Regions from separate parts of the Homo sapiens genome. Here all the other regions are linked to region 1. Evidence: promoter capture Hi-C in 16 types of primary human blood cells and fetal thymus (Javierre and others, 2016). All regions are on one chromosome and are shown on one strand. The core of a region is centred on a gene start or on the middle of the fragment in contact, and the rest is flanking DNA. Distances in the headings are between cores, read along the strand shown.

Evidence for each region. Contacts are between HindIII fragments. The CHiCAGO score rates a contact against its expected background, and 5 or more counts as called.
Region 2: a contact is called between a fragment that was not itself captured here and the fragment with the promoter of RAB8B in region 1, in 1 of 17 cell types (monocytes). The highest score is 6.1, in monocytes.
Region 3: a contact is called between a fragment that was not itself captured here and the fragment with the promoter of RAB8B in region 1, in 1 of 17 cell types (neutrophils). The highest score is 5.1, in neutrophils.
Region 4: a contact is called between a fragment that was not itself captured here and the fragment with the promoter of RAB8B in region 1, in 1 of 17 cell types (naive CD4 T cells). The highest score is 5.4, in naive CD4 T cells.
Region 5: a contact is called between a fragment that was not itself captured here and the fragment with the promoter of RAB8B in region 1, in 1 of 17 cell types (M2 macrophages). The highest score is 5.9, in M2 macrophages.

Annotation. Positions count from the first base shown.
Region 1 is chr15:63,188,341-63,190,866 of GRCh38, reverse strand. RAB8B (RAB8B, member RAS oncogene family) reads right to left here and starts at 1,261. Exons shown (of 8, transcript NM_016530.3): 1 at 1,119-1,261. The coding sequence starts at 1,242. LOC101928972 (a long non-coding RNA gene) reads left to right here and starts at 1,436. Exons shown (of 4, transcript XR_932355.4): 1 at 1,436-2,021. RefSeq lists a silencer at 1,177-1,506 and an enhancer at 1,687-1,836. The HindIII fragment of the contact is 3,523 bases long and covers 1-2,526 here.
Region 2 is chr15:63,541,773-63,544,298 of GRCh38, reverse strand. All of the region lies in intron 3 of USP3 (ubiquitin specific peptidase 3), which reads right to left. Among named protein-coding and RNA genes, the nearest start is that of USP3, 38 kb to the right of the region's middle. The HindIII fragment of the contact is 3,441 bases long and covers 1-2,526 here.
Region 3 is chr15:63,519,056-63,521,581 of GRCh38, reverse strand. The region is part of intron 1 of USP3 (ubiquitin specific peptidase 3); the gene reads right to left. Among named protein-coding and RNA genes, the nearest start is that of USP3, 16 kb to the right of the region's middle. The HindIII fragment of the contact is 5,599 bases long and covers 1-2,526 here.
Region 4 is chr15:63,470,250-63,472,775 of GRCh38, reverse strand. No RefSeq gene overlaps it. Among named protein-coding and RNA genes, the nearest start is that of USP3, 33 kb to the left of the region's middle. The HindIII fragment of the contact is 8,815 bases long and covers 1-2,526 here.
Region 5 is chr15:63,453,966-63,456,491 of GRCh38, reverse strand. No RefSeq gene overlaps it. Among named protein-coding and RNA genes, the nearest start is that of USP3, 49 kb to the left of the region's middle. The HindIII fragment of the contact is 4,168 bases long and covers 1-2,526 here.

The DNA.
Region 1 (2,526 bases), core at 12-2,511:
TAACAATAATTAGAACCAAAGCAAAATATACAGGGAGGCAGGTAGAATGTAAGTTCATTTCCTTGGCTGAGAAGCTGTTAAACATTCAAACCGAAGGATTTAAAATACTGAGAAGTCTTGCTTCTCAGGAGATGGTAGTAAAGAGGTGAACCATATTTTCCTGACCACATCATTTCCAAAAGTCACCAATTCCCTTAACATCCATTAACACTCACAGAACAAATTAACGCTCTATAGACATTATTCCATCATTAGTCACATTTTGCTTTCTCCTGCACTTGATCCAAAGGAAGTGAAGAGAAAATGGTAATCAGTTACTATAGCAAGTCTTGCGCCCCACTACTTTCCATTTCCTCTCTTTTCCATCTCCTCTGTCTTCTCTGCTCAACCTCCCTTTACTATGATGTTGCTTCCTCTTTTCCTTTCTGTCTCACACCCAGATCCCTTTACTTTCTCCATCAAGTATCCTCATTCTGCCCTCTGATCCCTTGAACTCTTCTTCCACCTACAATTTTCTTCTGTCCCCTCCTACGACATCTCAGTCCAGACCTCCTGTGGCCAGCCGTCCCCTTCTTCCTCACCTCCTGACCGCTCATTCCCCTGAATTCCCTTCCAGTTGCCTGGTTCTCACCTCTCTGTCCCTTGTGTCCTCTGTCCCTTTACTTCACATCCCTCTCATTGCCCCCATCCCTCATTTCCCCCTTCACATTTCCTTCCTCTCCTGTCTTTTAATCATTGGCACGTCCACTATCCCCTTCTCTCTACATGAGATTTCCTGAGTCTTCCCCCCAACACATTTTGTCCCTCAAAGACCCCTCCCTGTCAGTCTCCGAACCCTCTCGTTCCCCCAATACCCCTAGTCCTTGTTCCTCTGTTCCCCTTCCCGTTCCTTTGCCCCCAAGTTCCCCCTTCGCCCTTAGCCTCACGTTCCCGCTCGCCTCTCTCCCTCACGCCCTCGCCCCTCTCCCTCACGCCCTCGCCCCTCTCAGTGCCCCCGCCACCTTGCAGTCCCCGGGGTCTCCTCTCCCGGGCTCCCAAGCGCCCCCCGCCCTTTCCCCGTCCCCTAGTACCCGCCCCCCAATTCTCTACCCGGTCCCGGGCCGCGGCCCCTCCCTCACCGATGGTGGAGATGAAGGTGGTGTTGAAGGCGTCCTCTGAGAAGCGGAACAGGAGGCAGGTCTTGCCTACCCCCGAGTCGCCGATCAGCAGGAGCTTGAAGAGATAATCGTACGTCTTCGCCATCTTCTCGCTCCGGCCCTCTGACCGGGGAGCCAGAGGAGGCGGTGGAGAGAGGCGGGGAGGGGGCCGCGGGCGAGGGGGCGTGCCCGCCAATCCGCCGCTGCTCGCCCCGCCCCACGCCCCGCCCCTCCTCTCGGAGAAGGCCTGCGCGCCCCGCCCCGTGCGGCCAATCGGCGAGGGCTTCGTCATCACCGCCCGCGCCCCGGGACTTCATGGGACTTGTAGTTCCTCCGGGGAGCCTCGGGCGTGCCCCGCGAGGACTGTCCAGGCGGCTCCAGCGGATAAAAGACCTGCTATGGGCGGGGTGACAGGGTGGAGGCGTTTCCACCCGAGCTGGGAAGGGAGGCCCCGTTTCGTACTCTGCTGGTCGAGCCGCGGGAACTTAACTTTGTTATTTCTTTGTGTGCAGACGCCTTCCAAATCCAGGACCTCAGAATCAGAGCCCCGTAGTTCCCGCATCTCTTCCGCCGAGACCTGGAGCAGAGATGCTTTCTTTCCTTGGCGCTGCTGTGGCGCAGCCTACGGGTTATCTGCAGAGGGCATTATCCAGCTTCTCCCCGAGGCCATGCCCAGCACCACTATAACCCCCTCCCGCAGCCCCTCAGTCACAGAGCTGAGAAAGAATGGTTACCATGCTAACTCGAACCTCACTCGTGCCCCCTTCTTCACGCCACACAGACCAGAGCCAAATACAATGAGTATTTAGAGAATCTGCTACGCTGATCGCTCCCCTCTCCTCGCAGGAGGATGGATTTTTAAATCTGGGAAGTCTTGTGCTACAGGTCTGTGCCCCATGAAACTGCAAGCATCCTGTGAGGCGGGCCACGGGAATTTAGAGAGTAAGATTTGAATTTAGTCTTGGCTCTGCTGCAAAACCGCTGTGACAAGTCACACAGGCACTGGACATTTCAGTTTTCTCATCTGTAAAATGGATATGAAACAAGATACTTCATAGGGTTCCAGTGAAACTTAAATACTAAATGTGAAAGTTCTTTGAAACCCATAAGGCACTGTTAGCAGTGATGGTAATATTCATTACTCTTCAGTAGGCTCTCACTTAATTGATGACGAATATAGGGAGGAAACAGCATTCTGTTATACTCAAGTTAATCCTTTATTATTTATTGTCTTAGGCTAATTCTCTGTTTTGTGGATGTATTGTTCAGTCCCCTTTCATTTGCTAGTGGCAGAAACCCAACCGGATTAGCTGTTGTGAAAGGGGTGTTGACTGGTTCAGGTAATGTGGAAGCAAAAGGCTAAGAAGGTGTGGGACTAGGAGTCCACCCT
Region 2 (2,526 bases), core at 13-2,512, 350 kb before region 1:
TTCATCAGCTTCCTAATCAAGTTAAAAAATAAACCACAAAACTGAGTATCCACTACCCTCTCTATATATATTCTATATATATATGTATATATTTGTATTAATAAATTATATATACAATTAAATCTAAATTATATATTACAAAAAAGAATAATTTTTAAAGAATGAGCTAGAGATGAAATAAACTATATTAAATGTCTTGCTATTCACAATATCTTCATACTATTATTAAACTAATTTCCTTTTTTTTTTTTTTTAAAGACAGTGTCTCCCTGTGTTGCCCAGGCTGGTCTCGAACTCCTGGGCTCAAGAGATCCTCCTGTCTCAGCCTCCCAAAGTGCTAGGATTATAGGTGTGAGCCACCATGCCTGGCCATAATTTCTCAAAGTACAATATACCATAAGGTAAAGGTTTGACATTAATGACAGTGAATATAGATTCATACTTCCTATCATCTTCATGTTAATTTTTAAACATTTTGTCCAACTTATCAGGTCTTATTAGTCTGTGTTTTTATTAGATAGCCAATAATTTTATCCTGTAATATGTTTGATGAGCACAGAGTAGGAAAATGTATCCATTTGCCCTTTTCTTGTGTTTACATCATCGTCACTATCTTGCAGAATTTAAAACCTTTTAGAACATGTGTCCATGTGGCTACACATATTATATGGGACGAATAAATCCATATAACTAAGCAGATATAGAATGCAAAATGCTCAAAGTAAACAGAATGAGGACACCACAGGTGAAACTGATTTAGGAGTCTGTGTGTAACTCATGGCACACAATCATCAAATCTACAGACCTCTGGCAGCAGGTGTTAAATATTTGACAAAGGTTTCTTTTCTCCTCCCAAATAAAAAGGTACAGTGTTCTAAACGCTCTTCCCATACTGCCAGTACATTATTTTGGAGACCACTGCACTAAAAACTAGGTCCCTAGCACATAGTAGCTTCTCAAAAAATGTTACTTATTGAGTAAAATGTGTCTTTTTTTTTTAATGTTGTTCACAATATGTTTGAGGACCATCATGTAAACCACGATCTGTCCCAAGTAAACATTTTGAAGACAAAAACTGAGGGAGAAAAGGACTACTTTTTATAATATCAAGTTTTCTTCATAAGGGTCATTACCTTCACTCTGTACCTTTCTTTAACACATTTATTCCTAGGTGTAACCAATAGTTTTGTCATTCTGTTGAATATTTTTGCTTGGTCATTTCCATTTTCAACTGATGACTACTAATAAAGAGAAAGCTATTAGTTTGTGTACATTTCTCACACATCAGCTTTCCAAAGTGTCTTACATTTAATCCTCATTGCTGTTTTCTACTAGAGTCCCCCTGGGCTTTCCAGCTATTCTATTGTATCATTTCAAAGTAGAAATAATTTTTTGTTTCCAATATTTATGCCAATTATTTGACTTTCTGTCTACTGTCTTACTGCAATGGCTAGAACTACCAAAACAATGCTTAATAATAGTGACAATCATGTAAATGATGACAGGAAGTATTAGTCTCGTTTCTGATATAATGGAAATGGCTTTGGCATTTCATCATTTAGTATATGATGTTTGCTTTCTGGTTTTTGGCAAACTAGAAGAGCTTAAGTTTCTGTTTATTTCAATGTTATTAGTTTTTTAAAACGAGAAATGGCTATTTATAAATGTATATTTTGCTTCCAATGGGACAATAATTTGAGGTTTCCTTTAATAATGAATATGTTCATAGAACTCAGGTGAAATTAACTCTACTTGGTAATTATATAATTTTTCTTTTTGATAGCTTACTGGGTTAGATTTGCTTTAAGTTATAGTTATTTCCAACTACAGTATTTTATTTAGTAAAATTGGCTTATTTTGTTTTTGGAGTTTCTGTTAGATTTCTATCTTAAGGTTTTGAAAGTTTATAACATTAATATACTTAATGTTAAATTTTAATAGTTTGAGGCTGCACTGTCCAATAGTAGCTAGCAGTCACATGGTGCTATTTAAATATTAATTAAAATAAAAAACACTTAATTCTTCACACTAGCCACATTCAATTGCTCAATTGCTACCATACTGAATAACATATATGTCATACCCAAGACAGAGAAAAATCTCTACCTCTTTCTCAGCTTTAAAATTCTAAGTTTTTTTCAATTCCTGTTGTTAGTGCTATTGAAGTTACTCAAGTCATGACTTCCACATCATGTCCTTGAAGAACTAAGAAAATATTCCCAAAGCAAACCATTCTTCACTCATCTGAAACAAGGAGGAATAATCATACAAATAAAACATTTTTTATGCAACAGTAAAGAAACAAGTCCTTTAATTTACTGGCAACAAAGCTATCTTTATACAGTAAGCCATGCATAACACTAATACCAAAAATAAATAAATAAATAAAACCTCTTATGCAACAAACACCCCTGACACATGACAGATCCTTCATTAAGTTTCACCAGCTCCTTTTCATTCACTTCTAAGACATTTTGATATTTACGGGCAAATTTGACATCTGGTTTTATTATAAATGACAGTAAT
Region 3 (2,526 bases), core at 8-2,507, 330 kb before region 1:
CCCAAGGCTACTTCCAGCTCTCTAATTTCAAGGTTTCCCAACAGAAAAATAATTACGATAGATAAGTATTTCACTTCAACAGCCTTGGATACATTTCTAAGACCACAGTGGAAGTGTGGAGTAGGCAGACAAATAGCTTGAAGTATTATCTTACATATTGCTGCTCACACAATTAAAAAGTTAATTTTTTTGTGTGTTCTTCCCTGAAGATACCTGATAATACAAAAATATCTTTGTACAAGGGTATTAACTGCTGCATTATTTGTAACTACAAATATTGGAAACAACCTAAATGCCCACATATAGGAGATGGGTTGAATTCACTGTCGCACATCCACAGATGGAGTACTAGAAGCTGTTTTAAAAAAGAGAATAAGGAAAATTCCTACAAACATGGAGTGACATCCAGGATATACAGCTAAATGAAAAAAAAAAAAAGTCCAAAAGAATGTATCTAGTTTGCTATCTTTTGTGAGGGAAAAAAAGAAAATACCCACCTGCTTTTCTTTACAAAAAGAAACACAGGAAAGATCAATCAGAAATTAATGAAATTGGTTGTCTACAGGGGGTGGGTAGGAGTGAGCGGCCGGCATTAGGTAGTGACATTGCTTAGCACAGCTTTTTGTGTAGTTTTAACTTTTGGAACCATGATAATGTTTTATATACTCAAAAAGCAAAATAAAATCAGTAAGGATGAGATTTTAAAAATCTTAAAATGGGGCCAGGCATGGTGGCTCATGCCTGTAATCCTAGCACTTTGGGAGGCCAAGGTGAGCAGATCACTTGAGGTCAGGAGTTCAAGACCAGCCTGCCAACATGGTGAAACCCTGTCTCTACTAAAAATACAAAAATTGGCCGGACATGGTGGCCCACGCCTGTAATCCCAGCCACTCGGGAGGCTGAGGCAGGAGAATCGATTGAACCTGGGAGGCGGAGGCTGCAGTGAGCCGAGATTGCATCATTGCACTCCGGCCTGGGGACAAGAGCAAAACTCCATCTCAAAAAAAAAAAAAAAAAAAAAAAAAAATCTAAAACAGAAATCAAACAAACAAATGAACAAACTTTATGTTAAATAAGTGTATTAAAAGGGAGACTAAAACTAAACCAAATAGCTTTTTAACATAGTACTTTTTATGTTTTCAGTATACAGACAAAAAGAACTGTAAACAAATTTGAACTTGAGTTATAAGGGGTTTTCTTTACAATGGTATGGGTTAGCAATTCTGGAACTATTTTCTCTGATTATAGAATTGTGCAAATGAGTACACACTCATTGTAGATAATGGGAACCAGTTCTTACTGTTGGAGAAAGGTGTTACAAATATGGAAAGGGGCAAGACTAGGCTTGTGGTGTTGAATGAAATTGTAGGTATCAGTATAAAATCATGGTGATAAACACACAAATACACACAGACATAAACAGATGTAGATATGCTTATTTATTTATATTTCTCAGCTCTACTGTGCTGAGAGATCTTAGTTTATAAACATTATTCCCAGCCAAAAAGAATGAGGGCTACTTGGAGAAATGGCTAATTCCAAGGCTGCAACAGGCTAAGTACAAGATGAGCCTGGAACATCTTGTGCGAGAAAGTAAAAAGGGCTCAAAGAATGACGGCGCGTGCCCAAATCACAGCTTAAGGGTGCTCCCACCAGCTAAATATAAGCTAATTTGAGCCTCAAAATAAATAATGATGAGTACCTTAGAATAAAAAAAAACCGAGTGCTTATTAAGATAAGTAAGCAAATTAATAGTAAGCAGGGGAGAAAGTTCTTTCTTATAGCAGAATGCCAACTAACATGTAAAAGAATTACGAGTCAGAAAATCATCACCTTGCAATCATCCTACTAATAACTGATTCAGGCAAGAATCATCAATGGATGTGAAACTACTGGGTAAAACTTTGGTAAGAAACGAGGTATATACATAATCTAAAAACATTTCCCACAAATTACTTCTTAATAGCAAAGGAGAAAATAGTAACTTTATAGCTGATTAACCTACCAAATATTACCTTAATAAAGTAATCAAAGTTAGTATCACCAAAAACAAGACAGACCAACTCTTGATATGATGCCTGAGAAGACACAACATTACTTTTGTGGTATTCCTACCAAAAATGCATTACCTGAATCTAACCATGAAGAAACCTCTGAAAACTCAAACTGAAGAACATTTTATAAAATAACTGAAATGAACTCTTCAAAAATAACAAGACATTATGATGTTAGAATAGAAAAAAAAAAAGCCAAAAGCCAAGACATGAAAAACAAAGGCTGAGGAACTATTGGAGATGAAAGAAAACTAAAGAGCTATGACAACTAAATATAACACATGATCCTGGATTAGATCCAGGGTGGCTGGGGAGGTAAACAGAAAGGAGTAATAGCTATGAAGGCCATTGTTGGGACAATTGAGGAAATCTGAACATGGAATGTGCATTAGGTAACAGCATTCTATCAGTATCAACTGTCCTGATTTGACCAATATTCTCTGCTGATTGAAAAGAAAGACCCGGCCAGGCG
Region 4 (2,526 bases), core at 8-2,507, 280 kb before region 1:
AGTCTCGCTCTGTCACCCAGGCTGGAGTGCGGTGGCGTGATCTCGGCTCACTGCAACCTCCGCCTCCCGGGTTCAAGTGATTCTCCTGCCTCAGCCTCCCAAGTAGCTGGGACTACAGACGTGTGCCACCACGCCTGGCTAATTTTTGTATTTTTAGTAGAGACGGGGTTTTGCCATGTTGGCCAGCTGGTCTTGAACTCCTGACCTCAGGTGATCCACCCGTCTTGGCCTCCCAAAGTGCTAGGATTACAGGCATGAGCCATTGCGCCCAGCCCACTTCCCCACCTTCTAAACCAACTAGGGGCTTACCCTTGCTGACCAGTCACTTGGTCCCACGGCCTCTGCAATGCAGAGCAAACTGGAACGAGAGCACCAAAAATGTCCTGCCAGTTTGCCTCCTAGGGGTGTGAATGTACATATTGCCCTTCCAGTTCTGGCCCAACGGGCTTAATTAATTCAAGCCCTCAGCATCTTCTTTTACCTCCAGATACCTCGATAGTCTCCTGGGTCTCCCCGACTCCTATCGTGCTCATTTCTACTCATCCTCCTCACTTTTTTTTTTTTTTTTTTTGAGATGGAGTCTTGCTTTGTTGCCCAGGCTGGAGTGCAGTGGCGCGATCTCGGCTCACTGCAAGCTCCGCCTCCCGGGTTCACACCATTCTCCTGCCTCAGCCTCCTGAGTAGCTGGGACTACAGACGCCCGCCACCACGCCCGGCTAATTTTTTGTATTTTTAGTAGACACGGGGCTTCACTGTGTTAGCCAGGTTGGTCTCGATCTCCTGACCTCGTAGTCCGCCTGCCTCAGCCTCCCAAAGTGCTGGGATTACAGGTGTGAGCCACCACACCTGGCTCGTCCTCCTCACTTTCTACAACATCTAGCTCATCATGTCACTGCCCACCCCCTGCTTACAGGATGAAGTCCCAACGCCTTGGCAGGGCATTCAAGGTCCTTTGCAATTTTGCCACAACCTACATATCCATCTTTAGTGCCCATATCCAGTACCTCAGCCACACCTGCCTCCTGCCTGTTAGTGCCCTACTCACTCATACCTACTGGCCACTGACTAAAAGGCCCTTCCTCCTATTGTCTGCCTGGAGGATTGTGGCACCTCTTTCTAGAACATGCTCAAATGCAGCTTTCTGTGAAATGGGCCACCATCTCCTGGTGGCTTAGAGACAGGGCCTTGGTATGTTGCTCAGGCTGGAATACAGTGGCTATTCACAGGCATGATCATAGCTCACTGCAAGCCTAGAATTTCTAATTGCAAGTAATCCTCCTGCCTCAGCCTCCCGAGTAGCTGGATCTTCAGGTGCTAGCCAGCTGAATGCTTTCTTAAGTCTTTACTCGGCCTGCAATTAATTCCATTCCCCACCTTTTCCCACCCACAAATTCCCAGTCTCCTTCAGCATTTGGATCTACTGTCACCTTTAAATTGTTTAAAAATTATTTTTGACACAATTTCAGACTTGCAAGAAAGTTACAAGAATAGTACAAATAATTCTTGTATATCTTTCAGCCCGATACCCTAAATATTGTTTGTGACATTAACCTTAACCTTCCACCCACCCAACTACCTACCTATCTTTTTTTTTTTCTTTTTTTTGAGACAGGGTCTCACTCTGTTGTCTAGGCTGGAGTGCAGTGGCACTATCTCAGCTCACTGCAACCTCAGCATCCTGGGTTCAAGCAATTCTCCTGTCTCAGCCTCCCAAGTAGCTGGGATTACAGGCGTGTGCCACCACGCCTGGCTAATTTTTGTATTTTTAGTAGAGATGGGGTTCTGCCATGTTGGCCAGGCTGGTCTCAAACTCTTGACCTCAGGTGATCTGCCTACCTCAGCCTCCCAAATTGCTGGGATTACAGGCATGAGCCACTACGCTGCTTGCCTGCCTGCCTGCCTGCCTGGCTGGCTGGCTGGCTGGCTTGCTTGCTTCCTTCCTTCCTTCCTTCCTTCCTTCCTTCCTTCCTTCCTTTCCTTCCTTTCCTTCCTTTCCTTCTCTCTCTCTTTCTCTCTTTCTTTTTTCCTTTTTTTCTTTTTTTTGATGGAGTCTCACTCTGTCACCCAGGCTGGAGTGCAGTGGCGTGATCTTGGCTCACTGCAACCTCCGCCTCCCGGGTTCAAGCAGTTATCTGCCTCAGCCTCCCGAGTGGCTGGAATTACAGGTGCCCGCTAATTTCTTTGTATTTTTAGTAGCGACAGGGTTTCACCATCTTGGCCAGGCTGGTCTTGAACTCCTGACCTTGTGATCCACCCGCCTCGGCCTCCCAAAGTGCTGGGATTACAGGCATGAGCCACTGCGCCTGGCTGCCCCTACCTATCTTTCTATGTACTGTATCTAGAATCATAATTTTACTTTTTCTGAACTGTTTGTGAGTTACTTTACAGACATTACTCCCCTCTACTCCTTTGGTGTATATGCTTTGTAAAACCAAGGACATTCTCTTAGATAAGTATAGATAATCATCAAAATTAGGAAATTAACTTTGGTACCAACTATTTTATCTAATCCACAGATCTTATTCC
Region 5 (2,526 bases), core at 9-2,508, 270 kb before region 1:
CAGAAAGAGGAAGGCACTTGCCCATGGTCACACAGTGAGTTAGTGAGACTGGAGCCCAGCTCTCCAGGGTTCTGTGCTGTGCTAGTCACAGGCTGTTAGGCAATTGGCTTTCCTGGGTTCTGGTCAAATTCATTTTTTGCCTACTCTGCTGCATCTACACAGTCAGATGTGATTTGGGTTAAAGTTCATTGAATCATGTCTATTTCTTGTCTGTTCAGTTTTGTGGCTTCCTGGGTCTCTTTGACTAACTTCTGTTCTTTTAAAATCCAATATGGTATCAATACATGGTGAAAATATTCTCTGAAAACAGTCTGGCACTTCCTCAAAAAGTTAAACATAGAGGTATCATATGACCCAGCAATTCTCCTCCTAAGCATATACCCAAGAGAACCGAAAACATGTTCACACAAAATATGCACTCATATATTCAGCAGCATTATCCATAATAGTCAAGAAGTGGAAACAATCTAAATGTCCATCAACTGATGAATGGATAAAGGAAATGTGCTATGTCCATACCACGAGATATTATGTGGCAATAAAAAGGAACGAAGTACTGATCCACGCTACAATACAGATGAACCTTGAAAACATTATGCTAAGCGAAAGAAGGCAGTCACTAAAGACCACATATCATATCATTCCATTTCCATAAAATGTCCAGAATAGGCAAATCCATAGAGACAAAAAGTAGATTAGTGGTTTAGGGGTTTTTAGGGGCTGGGGGTGGGGCAATGGGAAGTGACTGCTAATGGATGTGGAGTTTCCTTACTGGCTGATGAAAATTAGATAGTGGTGATCGTTGCATAACTCTGTGAAAATATATATATATATATATACCAACACTTCAAAAGGATGAATTTCGGCCGGGCGTGGTGGTTCACACCTGTAATCCCAGCATTTTGGGAGGCCAAGGCGGGTGGATCATTTGAGGTCAGGAATTCAAGACCAGCCTGGCCAATATGGTGAAACCCCGTTTCTACTAAAAATACAAAAATTAGCCAGGTGGTAGTGGCACACACCTGTAATCCCACCTACTTGGGAGGCTGAGGCAGGAGAATTGCTTGAGCCTGGGAGGCAGATGTTGCAGTGAGCTGAGATGGCGCCACTGCACTCCAGTCTGGGCCACAAGAGTGAGACCCTGTCTCAAAAAAAAAGAAAAAGAAAAGAAAAAAACAAGGATAAATTTTATGGTATCTAAATTACATTTTAAAAAAGATGGTCTCTGATTAAAACACAAGAAAAATGAAATTGGAGGAAATCCACAATGAGAAAAGTGTTACAATGTGAAGATATACACTTCAGCTAGACTTCTAAATGCCTAAAAAGAACATTTATAAGTAGGTTTTCTACTCTAAAAACTGGAGTGGAATGGTGGAATGTGTCCTGCCTTATAAAGTAGCTACTCAGATGTGAATTAGAATCCCAGTTCCTCTACTAACTGGTTGCATGACCTTGGTCAAGTTACCTACCCTTCATCAACCTCAGTTTCTTCATCCATTAAATGGGATAATAAAGTCTCTCTTACAGGTAATGGCATGTACTGTGTCAGCAGTCACCCTGAGACTGCAGTGTTGGGGGCACTTTCGCTCTCAAGCAGTGTCTGGAAACTTTTCTGAGTGCTTCTTAAACTGTAGCACGCATTGGAGTTCTTTCTTTCCCCTTAGCTTTTCTCAAACTCTGTAGGTTTAGTGACTAGTACAAGGCTTCTCAAACAAAAATGTGCACAGAATCACTTGGGAATCTTGTTAAAAATGCAGAATCTGATTCACAGGTCTGGGATGGAGTCTGAGATTCTGCATTTCTAAAAATCTCCCGGGCAATGCTGTTGTTGCTGGTCCTTGGAAACACCTGACTAGTATGGTTCTATGTCACCGGAAATGTGAAGCTAGAATGATTTATAGAACCTTCCTTGAGTAGCAAAATTAACTGGGTTTTATAACTAAAATACTTCACAAAAATATAGTCCAAAATAGTGTCAAAATTTTTTTTAAAGATTCCTTTTAGAGGCTGGGCGCAGTGGCTCACGCCTGTAATCCCAGCACTTTGGGAGGCCAAGCAGGTGGATCACCTGAGGTCAGGAGTTCAAGACCAGCCTGACCAACATGGAGAAACCCTGTCTCTACTAAAAATACAAAAACTAGCCGGGTGTGATAGTGCATGCCTGTAATCCCAGCTACTCCAGAGACTAAGGCAGGAAAATCGCTTGAACCTGGGAGGCAGAGGTTGTAGTGAGCTGAGATCGCGCCATTGCACTCCAGCCTGGGCAACAAGGGGGAGACTCTGTCTCAAAAAAAAAAAAAATTTATTTCCTTTTAGATATTCACAGAAATTTCTGCAGCCTTCTCTGAGGGTACAGAGTTAACATGAAATTCTAATTTGAACCACAAAAATTAATAGCAACATGTATACTTGTATGAAGTGTCAACATTTTCCAAGTATAACTTGCATCTAAAATCTCCTTTATTCCACTTAGAACAGGTCTGGGAGGTAGGCAGAGTATGAGTGATTATCTCCATTTTGTAG